4 separate regions of the Homo sapiens genome follow, and regions 1, 3 and 4 are each linked to region 2. The links are contacts of gene promoters, found by promoter capture Hi-C in human tissues and cell types (Jung and others, 2019). All regions are on one chromosome and are shown on one strand. Each heading gives the region's core, a stretch centred on a gene start or on the middle of the fragment in contact. The rest is flanking DNA. Distances are from core to core; before and after follow the strand shown.

Region 1 (2,741 bases), core at 97-2,596, 1.0 Mb before region 2:
ATTCTTTAAAATAAATACATTTTTACAAAGAACTTACATGGAAGAGTTAAGCAACCAAGTAAAAGGAATAAAATCAGAAAAATAGTAATTTGACAAAGGGGGCAGGAAGGCTAAAGACAATTTAAAAAGTCTCATTTCCAAGAAGTGAAATCAGGAAATCCCAGCATCTTAACTCCTTCATACCTTAAAGGAAGTTCCTTGTAGCTAACAATTTAATCTCATGGTTTTTTCCTTTAAATAACAGTAGCAACTAACAAATACTAGAAAACCAGTGACTAGGCTTACGTGAGATATTCAAGAAATTCTGGCTGAATCTGAAAAACTAGTAACTTTCCATATGCTTTTATAAACCTATTAAAATGTTCAAATCCAGGCACTGCTAGGCCAGATGAGGCTGCTGAGTGAAACTATCCCATGAGACTCAGCATAATCAAGACGAGTCCTGCAATGAAGGTTCCGTCATTAAAAAACCCACTGGACGTGTGTTTTCGTTTCTTCATGTTTTACAAGGTCAATATATTTGTTCTGTGACTCAATTTCAAAAATTTGAAATTAAGCAACATTAGATCAGATAATTCTTAGGTTTGAGAATTTCAGCAGGGCCTAAGCCCAAGAGCTGAGCTGGGGAGATAAGCAGGAGGGGGAGGCCTCACACCTCAGATAGGATCCCAGCACCGCCAGGCCGCCACATTTTAAAATATCAGCCACTGGGTCACCTGTGACTTTCCTCTGAGTCTTCTACCTGAGCTCATATACAGCTGATCTGTCACCGATTTCAGACCCTGAGCCCTCTGCTCTAGGCACTTGCCTCAGGACTCACACCCACCAGTGGACGGATGGCAGTGCTGGTGGGAGCCACGCACACCTGACCCCTGCCCCCACAGCCAGGCGCCACCTCTGCTGCCGGAACCACCACTTCCTGAAGAACCAAGGAGGCCTCGTTCTGAGACACTGCCAGTCTTGCAGGAAGGCCTTTGTAAAACTCTCTTAAGGGGCGCCGCAGGACCTCCAAAAGGCAGCCTGCAAGGAGGCGGTGCTCCTGCAGCAGCCAGCACCGGGTGGGAGAAGTGGCCGCCCACCAGCAGAGGGCGCTGCAGGCCCGGCCCCAACCCACGCGGAGGCCACGTGCACAGCTCCACCATCCACACCCAGTTCCCTCCCGGACTGCATTAGAACGATGATTTGCATTTTTCTCATTATTAACATTGTGATCATACTAAAAATTCCAGAGAACTTACGTAATTCAAACAACAACTTTTAAAAATATTAGCTTAAGTATTATTTCAAATATGATAAATGCACAATCATATTGATATAAATCTTTAAAGAAGAAAGCCACCAGGCACAAGGGCTCACACCTGTCATCCTAGCACTTTGGGAAGCTGAGGCGGGCGGATTGCCTGAGCTCAGGAGTTTGAAACCAGCCTAGGCAACATGGTGAAACCCCGTCTCTACTAAAAGTGCAAAAAAAAAAGAATTAGCTGGGTGTGGTGGCACACACCTGTGGTCCCAGCTACTTGGGAGGCTGACGCAAGAGAATCACTTGAACCTGGGAGGCAGAGGTTGCAGTGAGCCGAGATTGTGCCACTGCACTCCAGCCTGGGCAACAGAGCAAGACTCTGTCTCCAAAAACAAGAAAAAGAAAAGGAAAAAGAAAAAGAAAGAAGGGAGGAAGAAAGGAAGGGAGGGAGGGAGGGGTGGGGAGGGGAGGGGAGGAAAGGGAGAGGGAGGGAAGAAAGGAGGGAGGGGTGGGGGGAGGGAGGGAGGACAGGTAGGCAGGCTATGATTGGGTTTCATTAAACGCTCTTACCTGATGGAAGAAATCATCCATGAAATGATCTTTCTCAACCACAACAACTGTGTCTCCATCATCATTCTTCCTACACTACAATGAAAAATGGAAAATTCAGTTTTTTAAAATTTTTATGTAGGCACAAATAGCGAACTGAAATACAAAAACAGTTCAATACCCACAAGATCTCAACTCACTACAGCACCAAATTGTAACAGACTAGCAGCCACCACTATCTACTCCAACTGAACTCCGCAACATTTTCAACACAACAGATCCTGGCTGAAGCAGCCAGAAGGTGGAAGACCTGGAGAGAAACAAGGGGTGGCTTTCTCAGAACTAAGCTGCTTAGAATCATTTAGTTCTCACTATGTAAGTCAATATAACACAGGCCAGTTTTACCCTCAAGAAGTGAAACTGCTGGTGTTGCATATTTTCCATAAACAGTAAAAACACTGGCCAGCCGCAGTGGCTCACGCCTGTAATCCCAGCACTTTAGGAGGCTGAGGGGGGCAGAATGCTTAAGTCCAGGAATTCAAGACCGGCCTGGGCAACATGGTGAAAACCTGTCTCTACAAAAAATTAGCTGGGCCTAGTGGCCCATGCCTGTGGTCCCAGCTACTTAGGAGGCTGAGGTGGGAGGACTACCTGAACCTGGCAGGTTTAGCTGGGCCTAGTGGCCCATGCCTGTGGTCCCAGCTACTTAGGAGGCTGAGGTGGGAGGACTACCTGAACCTGGCAGGTTGGGGCTGCAGTGACCCTGTCTCTAAAAACAAAACAAAACAAAGCAAACCCCAGCACCACCCAGAAGAACGACCATTGATCAGGAGCTGAAGACCTGGGCTCCAGCCTCCTCCCCAGCAGCCCATTAGCTTGTCTCAGTCTCTGCCTCTTGTCCATGAAATAGAGATAGTATTGTCCCATCTCCATCAGAAGACCCTAAGGATAA
Region 2 (2,700 bases), core at 81-2,580:
CATCTACTCAGGAGGCTGAGACAGGAGAATCATTTGAATTTAGGAAGCAGAAATTACAGTGAGCCAAGATCGTGCCACTGCACTCCAGCCTGGGCAACAGAGCAAAAAAAAAAAAAAGAAAGAAAGAAAAAACAATCCGGGATGTCCTGTGAAAGTCCCCACCTCCTACAGGTGATCCCATCAGTCCGAACCAAGGTCATCTGAAGCAGGTGTGGAATCACCCTGTTCAGACCGGGCCAGGGAGGCTCTGAGGGCAGCAGGGACAGGATGGGCCAGAGTACCCAGGGAAGCGGGGGGGGGGGGGGGGGGGTGGTTGGGGGGAGTCGGCCCTCACAGGAGGGGAGGGGCACCACTTCCCTGAGACCAGTTCTGGTAAAAGGGGCCGAGCCTCAGTTTCCCTGTCCGTAGAATGAGACCTCAGTCCTGACAGTACCAGCTGCGATTTGGGGTGGTGGAGCAGGAGGGCCTGGGAAGGAGGGGAAGCCATGCTGTCCAGCACGAGGAGAAGCTGAATAAAGGCAAGGGTTACCCTTGAACCTCACCCCCTGCCCTCTCCCAAGATCTCCCACTCGGTGGGCAGCCTGTACGCAACTTGCACGAGTTCAATCCACACAAGCGCCTGCTCGGGCTCTGACCCTGGCTCTGCCGCTTGCCCGCTCCAGGACCTCCCATAAGTTACTTCATTTCTTTGGGCCTCAGTTTCTTTGTCTGCGAAATGGAAATCATAGTTTTCATCTCATAAATGTTGTAAGTAAATGAAATTATTTATGTAACTCCTGGGCATGTGCCAGGCACACGCTGCGCTCCAACAAACATTACAAGTTAACATTCTCGCTCCCAGGCCCGCAGGGACCGCAGAGCCTCCGCCGAGGACCCCAGCCCCCCCAACACCCGCCCTCGCCCTCCAGTCCCCCGCGCCCCCCAAGCCCCACCCTCCCTCTCCCGCGGTCCGCGGGCTCCACCAAGCGCCCACCTGCTGCGCTGCGGCGGCGGCTCCGGGGCCTGAACCCGGGTCTGAACCCGGGCCTCGGCGCCGTGGGGGGTGGACCCGGGAGCGCGGCCGGAGAGGGGAGTCAGGGTCAGCTCCCCGCAGGCGCCCCGACCCCCGCCTCCGCGCCCATCCCGCGCGTCCCCGCCGCCCCAAGAGCGTCCTAAGACACCCGGGGAAACGCCTTCCCTGTGATGCCGCGGACCCAGTCCCGTCGCGGACACGGCGGGGCGGGCGGGGGTGGCAGCGTCCGAGGCGGCGCGGGCCCTTTAAGGCGGCCGGCCTCGTTAGCATACATTTGCATGGCCCCGCCCCGCCGCTTGAGGCTGCCGCGCGGGGCTCAGTCCGGCGGGGGCGCCGCGGAGAGCGGAGGGCGCCGGGCTGCGGAACGCGAAGCGGAGGGCGCGGGACCCTGCACGCCGCCCGCGGGCCCATGTGAGCGCCATGCGGCGCCGCGCAGCCCGGGGACCCGGCCCGCCGCCCCCAGGGCCCGGACTCTCGCGGCTGCCGCTGCCGCTGCTGCTGCTGCTGGCGCTGGGGACCCGCGGGGGCTGCGCCGCGCCCGCACCCGCGCCGCGCGCCGAGGACCTCAGCCTGGGAGTGGTGAGCGCGCGGGCGGGACGGGCGCGGAGCTCCTGGGCCGGAGCCGGGGGTCTCCGCGGGCCGGGTGGCGGGGACCGGGAAGACCCCAGCAGTGCACGTCGGCGTCGCGCGGGAGCCCTGGCGCCCTGGACCCATTTCCTGGGTGGGGAGACTGAGGCAGGGACGCGGGCTGAGCGACCGGGCGAGCGCACGCGAGTCCTGGGGAGGCGCCGGCTGCCGTCCCGGCTCCGTGCGCTGGGAGCGCGCCGCAGCCGCAGGAGCCCGTGGAGTTGTGAGGGGGTCGCCCACCCGGAGCCCGGGTCGCCGGCTTGCAGCAGCCCCGGAGCAGCCGGGCTGGGCGAGAGCAGGCATCGCGGCCGCCCCGAGCTCTGCGCGCTGCGTGCGTTCCGGGTGGGAGTGGCGGGGGCAGGAGCACGCACCCACAAAGCGAGGAAGGGCAGGGGCTACGGAGTGGGGGCACCCCGAAAGCCTTGAGCCCCCGAGTTTGCTCGGTTGAGGGTGTTGGGGGCACAGGGATGCTGGCCCCCAGCTCCCCACTGGACAAGGACCTGGCCCTCAGCCTCCTTCCCCTCCACCCCAGGTCGGCCAGGCTGGCCCTGCCTTGCCCTGGTACAGTGCTGAGCCGGGGGCGCGGGGAGAGCCTTCCTCACTCCACACCCAGTAGCTGTCCCCAGCTCAGCTTAGAAACCCTGCCTGGGGGCAGCGACGTGGCCTCTTCCTACAGCCCCCTCCCCTGTTCCGCAGCCGGGACTCGCGTCTCCTGTGGACCCGGAAGATTTAGAGCACACGTCGTGGGGTCAGCGCCCCCCCGCTGGGGCGGCCGGGTGAACTCCCGCTGGGTTCGTTGGTTCCTTCTGAGGCTCCTGCCCCACCGCTGCCTTCAATGGACTCCTACCCAGGGAGTCGGGCCAGGAGCCGAGGCCTCCCCGCCCCACACAAGTACTCGGCCTGGCCCTCGTCCGCGGACAGTCTCCCAGTGGGGTCCTGGCAGGGCCCCTCGCCCAGCGCAGTGGACATTCAGGAGCTCCAAAACCTTGGGGTCCAAGCAAGTCAGCGCAGGTGTATTTCAGGCAGTCGAGGCATATGGAGGGGCCACTTGGGTGGCACCC
Region 3 (2,700 bases), core at 171-2,670, 1.1 Mb before region 2:
CAACCAAGCCAGGGAGGTCATCCCAACTGCACCCTGCGGCCTCCCCGGGCCGCGAGGAGGGAGTTCTGCAGGGCAGGCAGCGCCTGCAGAGGCGGAGAACACCCGCACAGCTGGGGCCCCTCTGCTGAGATGCTGCCCAAAATACCCCGCTCACGACTGCCTTCCAAGCTAACTGCTGAAGCCGAGAGTTCTGACGGGCAGCAGTGGGCGTGCATGAAGCCTGAGTCACCATTTCAAAGCGCTGTGGCGGAGCAGAGGCATCTGCTCTGGGCACTGGCTTCCCAGCTGGAAGGAGGCACCTCCCAGCAAGTCGCCCTTGGGCCAAGAGCCTTGGAGCTCCCTCCCGGTCTCCCGGGTCCCAGGACAGGCGTTTTCATTTACCCATGGGTCTTTACTACAACTTGCGTTAGGCACTACTTCCTTACAAAACCATCCATGGGTCCAAAGACAGTTCTGTTAGTCTCTCTCTGACAATACCCCAAAACACCTCTAACCTCCGTGTGTGCGGATCTGCTGTAATCTTGGCCCTCACTTTGTAATAACAGCAAACATTATGGCCGGGGTCAGAGCCAAAGTCCATTCTCCCGTTATTTCATTTAACGCTCGCTGAATCAAGCTGCACTGAGGTCCTATTGTTCAAACAGGAAGTAGCAGTGCAGGGGACGATGCGGCCGCAGGGCTAGAAAAGGCTGGAGCTGGGGTCAGAACAGGCTTTGCCTCCATGAGAGCGCTGTCCAGCTGCTGGTTTCTGGCCCCAGCCGGCTCTCCTGTTACTGTTCTGCTGCACTGTGGCTGGTTTTGCTTACGCTCGCAGTGCTGCTATAAAAACTTAAGTAGCACAGGGTTCACCTTCTGGACTAATGTAAATAGCCAGAGCCGAAATATTCACGCAAAATGCATTTCATCACATTTACTGAGTGTCTATGTGTCAAGTAACACCCTAAGCTCTGTACGTGTAGAATATTTTTTTTCCTTTTAGATATGGGGTCTCACTATCCTGCCCAGGCTGGAGGGCAATGGCTATTCACACGTATGATCATAGCGCACTGCAGCCTCGAACTCCAAGGCTCAAGTGATCCACCTCAGCCTCCCCAGCAGCCAGGACTCCAGGCACATGCCTCCACTCCCGGCTTTTATGTACAGTCTTATTAAATACTCGCTGTGGCCCAAAAATGTGAGCACTGTTATGAACCCATTTTACGGAGGAGGAAACTCAGGCTTAGGATCATTAAATAAGTTGCCCACAGTCACACAGTCAGCGTGGGAGCCAGGCTCTCAGCCAGCAGAGCTTTCTTCATGCAGGATTCCACCTCCTCCCTCAACTTCAGACCCAGCTGGATCCTGGGGGGCTGAGGGCCCCTGCCTGGCATCACACTAAGGGTCAACACCAGTGCAGGTGCACCGACACCCTGAACAGCCCATGCCTCTCCCAGGGTACACCTGCTTAGGAAAAGGCCTGACAGAGACTCCATGCCCCTGGCAGTAACTCCCTGTGTTAGAAAGCAGAACACAGTGACGGGCCACAGGCCAGGTGGGGACACAGACTTGTGTGGTTAGGCACATGTAGGTTTTTGTTTTTAAAATGAAATGGACATTTTGAAAAGCCAATCAAAATCTCATAATTTCCAGTTTCTCTTGAACGTTTGATGCCCAGCAGCCCTTGGCTCTTATTTGTACATGGCAACAGCTATAGCCCCAAGGCAGCCTCCTGCCACCCAGAGCCTCCAATCCACAATTGCCAGCATCCCCACTCCCTGATCCCACATGCTGAGGCACTTGTCATGTACCCTGGGCTGGCACTGCTGCTTCTGCCCAGTAAAGAAAGGTCTCTCTGTGCCCATGCTCTCTGCTTCCGGTGAGGAAATGAAACACAGAACCTCCTGGCTTCTGGGACGTCCCCTCCCTGGCTGGCCGCTCCTCCCCTCCTAACTTGGGAGCATCAGGGGTCCAGGGCTCACTCCTGCCCCTTGTCTTCCCCCTGTCACTCACCAGCCAGGTGCTCCTGTCATTCATCCTGCGGCCCTCTCCCCAGAGCCAGTGTTGAGTGTCCAAATGCTTCCCCCATATCCCCTTGCATATCTGATCACAGCCGAGACCTAACTGAACTCCTGGGCTAGGCCCAGTGGCTCATACCTGTAATCCCAGCACTTTGGGAGGCTGAGGCAGGAGCACTGTTTGAGCTCAGGAGTTAGAGACCAGCGTGGGCAACACAGCAAGACCCCATCTCTACAAAAAAATTTAAAAATTAGCCAGGTGTGGTGGTGTGCACTTGTAGTCCCAGCTACTTGGGAGGCTGAGGCAGGAGGATTGCTTGAGCCCATGAGTTCGAGGCTGCAGTGAGCTGTGATCATGTCACTGCACTCCAGCCTGGGCAATAGAGCAAGACCTCATCTCAAAAAACAAAACAAAAAACACAACTGAACTCCTGAAACTCTTAGCCCTCCCCTAACACTTGCCCCTCCTCTGTCTGCTTTCCTCCTTGAAGACCATCCTTCCAGCTGCCCAGGCTGGTCTTCCTTGCCTCCTCTCCTTCTCAGACCCCAACACCAAATCCATCTGCAAATCCTCATTTCTGTTAACATTGTTGAGACATAACTCATATACCATACGATTCAATTGTTCTTAGGATATTCACAGAATTGTGCAACTGTCACCATTAATTTTAGAATCTTTTCATTACCCCATAAAGATACCCCATAC
Region 4 (2,762 bases), core at 174-2,673, 1.0 Mb before region 2:
GCTCAGAAGGGTCTTACCTCAGGAGTGAGGAATGACAGGCCCTCAAATAAAGCTGCTCTGCTCCCTCTAAATGCAAGATCCCAAAGGCTAAACCATGCTCATGTGATTTAACTACATTCTAAAACAAAGCCCAAGGAGATTTACAAAAATACTCAAAATACAGAAATACTCAGCACCCAACAAAGTAACGTTCACAATGTCTGGCACACACTCGAAACTTACCAGGCTCGCAAAGAAGCAGGAAAACACAAGCCACAGAAAGGAAGGAAATCAACCAACCAGAGCAGACAGGACACTGGAGTTGGCAGACAAAGACGGTTCAAGTTACTACAAGTGCGTCCCAGTTGTACAGTGGGGAGCAACACAGCAGACATGTAAAACACCCAGCAGAACTAGCAACAGAAACCAGTGTCTCCGATGAAACATACACCAGAGGAGGTTAAAGGCAGATCAGACAAGCAAGAGAAACTGACCAAAACCAAACACACTGGAAAAGAGTATCTAAAACATGAGGAGCCTCGCTGAGCTGTGGGACAAGGTCAAGCGGCCTGGCGGGCATATGACAACATTCTCTGAGGGGGATGTGCGGCGTTGGGAGCCGGGATGGGCCTGAGGCTTCATCTGACCTGCGAGCTGACACGCTGGCCTGCCAGGGCTCCGTGGGGGCCGGCAGAAGGTCCAAGGCCCCAGGTCAGGGACAAAGGGATTTCCTACTCACAGCACAGCAGGCAACCTGAGGCTCATGAGCAGCTGTCCACGGCCCCCAGTCTCATGGGGAGAGGCAGAGCAGCTGCAGTGGGACGTCCTCACAGTGGGTTTGTGTCACAGCTGAAGGACCCGAGCTTGGGAACCCCAATCTTTCACAATGGGGAGTCTACAAACCTGACCAACCTTTATCCCTGAAACAGACCCGTCTGTCCCCGAAGAAGGCGCCATCTCCACTGCCACAGCCAACTGTCCCCATAGACACCCCTGAAAAGAGTCTGGGGCAATAGGGCCGCTGCCTCTGCTCACAGACAAGGAGAGATGTGAGGAGCCATGAAGATGCCCCCGAACCAGGGCAGGGCGGGACTGAGGACACAGAAACACTCAAAGAGGAAATGACTGAGCACTCTCCCAATCTCCCTGAAACTCTAAAAGCAACAGCAATGAGCAAGGTAAACCCCACCGCTTAGGACTTCCTGAAGACAGGAAGAACAGGTTTGCCTGACTCACGGCATAGGAAGCTACGAGTGGTCTTTGGGTTTTACACTATTGGTGAAAATAGACATGGATTTCCTTTTCTGAAGTTAAAGTCATTTGAAGTGAGACCTTAAGGGAGAAAAACATGATTTTAACAAAGACGGAGTCTCCATTACTCACTTATCTCCAGCTGGCGCTGGATGCGGCCTTTGCTCCGCTCCCGAAACAGAGTCTGTGCCTCATTGTACTCCGCCATGGCTTCCACAAACTTCCGAGACAGCACCGAATGCTAACAACACAGGAAAACTACATTCGTATCTGAGGGCCATGCCTTCTACTGAAAGTGACATGCAAGACATGCATTTTGGAAACTCAAACTACATGTTATTCTGCTCCTGCAAATGGAAAATGACAATGGCAAAGTCCCCATGGCAGCATCTGTGCTAAGAACTTTGCATGCATGATCTTACCTAATTTTTACAAGACCCCTACTATGCCGGTCACAACCCTACTTAAAGAAAACCATGACTTTGAGGTCATTAGCCCAAGGTCACAGGCTTTTCTGATAAACACAGATCAGCACTGGGACCCAGGCAGGTGGACCCCAGAGCCCGCGTGCTTCATCGCCTTGTGCCCATGAGGGGACCCAGGCAAGCGGACCCCAGAGCCCGCGTGCTTCATCGCCTTGTGCCCATGAGGGGACCCAGGCAGGCGGACCCCAGAGCCTGCGTGCTTCATCGCCTTGTGCCCATGAGGGGACCCAGGCAGGCGGACCCCAGAGCCCGCGTGCTTCATCGCCTCGTGCCCTCGAGGCCTCAGGGCTCTGTCTTCCTCTGGGCAGTACCACAAACCACTAAAACGTGGCGGCCTTACCACAAACACTAAAATCATTTGGATAATTCCCTACTCTTTGGAATAGAACTCTGTTGATGGACCGAATAGATTTTTCTTCACAATAAAGAGATTTCTATAAATACTGTGAAAGGAAAATAAAATCGCAGGACCTCACACTCACTATCCCAAAGGGACAGTTAAGCTTGGGAACTGAGTCATGCAAAACACTGCCCTCCCTCCTCTTCTCAAACAGATGGCTGCAGTGACAGAAGGCCGCACATCGCCCCAGCAGCCTCCTGCACAAAGTGCTCACAAGGAAATTCCTCGTAGGTCCCAGAATCTTTCAGAATCCATATCCCCCCCACCAAAAACTAACTCTAAAACAGAGTTCTGCAGAATCTCACCCTGACAATGTACATTAGCCGCTTACCTTCACAGGTACAGGACAAAGACAAGACTAGAAGTCACCCTCGGCCCACCCTGAGAAATGCATGTATAGCTCCTCCCTCACCTCAGGCTCACACTGGCCCACGTAAGAGGCGGATCTGGGCACGGGAGGAGTGCAGAATCGACCCCCACTCCTCTCTTCCCACATGTGAAATGTGAACGCAGTGAGCCCTGAGCAAAGCCTCACAGCAGTGTGGCCACCCCGCTGCCTACCCCCACTTTTTCTCTTTTTTTTCCCCTTTCCTCCTTCCTCTCCTGCCCGCTCTTTCCCCTTTAAATACTGAAGTCCTCAAAACCCT

Evidence for each region. The method cuts DNA at HindIII sites, captures the fragments that hold promoters and counts their contacts. A contact is called where the count stands out against the background at its distance.
Region 1: a contact is called between a fragment that was not itself captured here and the fragment with the promoter of MMP17 in region 2, in 1 of the 25 tissues and cell types used here (dorsolateral prefrontal cortex).
Region 3: a fragment that was not itself captured here is called in contact with the fragment with the promoter of MMP17 in region 2 in 1 of the 25 tissues and cell types used here (lymphoblastoid cells).
Region 4: a fragment that was not itself captured here is called in contact with the fragment with the promoter of MMP17 in region 2 in 1 of the 25 tissues and cell types used here (dorsolateral prefrontal cortex).

What each region holds. Positions count from the first base shown.
Region 1 is chr12:130,825,383-130,828,123 of GRCh38, forward strand. It overlaps STX2 (syntaxin 2), which reads right to left. Exons shown (of 11, transcript NM_194356.4): 2 at 1,811-1,885. Among named protein-coding and RNA genes, the nearest start is that of STX2, 12 kb to the right of the region's middle. The HindIII fragment of the contact is 9,657 bases long and covers 1-2,741 here.
Region 2 is chr12:131,827,063-131,829,762 of GRCh38, forward strand. It overlaps MMP17 (matrix metallopeptidase 17), which reads left to right and starts at 1,331. Exons shown (of 10, transcript NM_016155.7): 1 at 1,331-1,591. The coding sequence starts at 1,433. RefSeq lists a silencer at 1,196-1,325. The HindIII fragment of the contact is 32,715 bases long and covers 1-2,700 here.
Region 3 is chr12:130,776,093-130,778,792 of GRCh38, forward strand. No RefSeq gene overlaps it. Among named protein-coding and RNA genes, the nearest start is that of RIMBP2, 61 kb to the left of the region's middle. RefSeq lists a silencer at 532-826. The HindIII fragment of the contact is 9,624 bases long and covers 1-2,700 here.
Region 4 is chr12:130,805,620-130,808,381 of GRCh38, forward strand. It overlaps STX2 (syntaxin 2), which reads right to left. Exons shown (of 11, transcript NM_194356.4): 6 at 1,363-1,471. Among named protein-coding and RNA genes, the nearest start is that of STX2, 32 kb to the right of the region's middle. RefSeq lists an enhancer at 275-1,197. The HindIII fragment of the contact is 5,694 bases long and covers 1-2,762 here.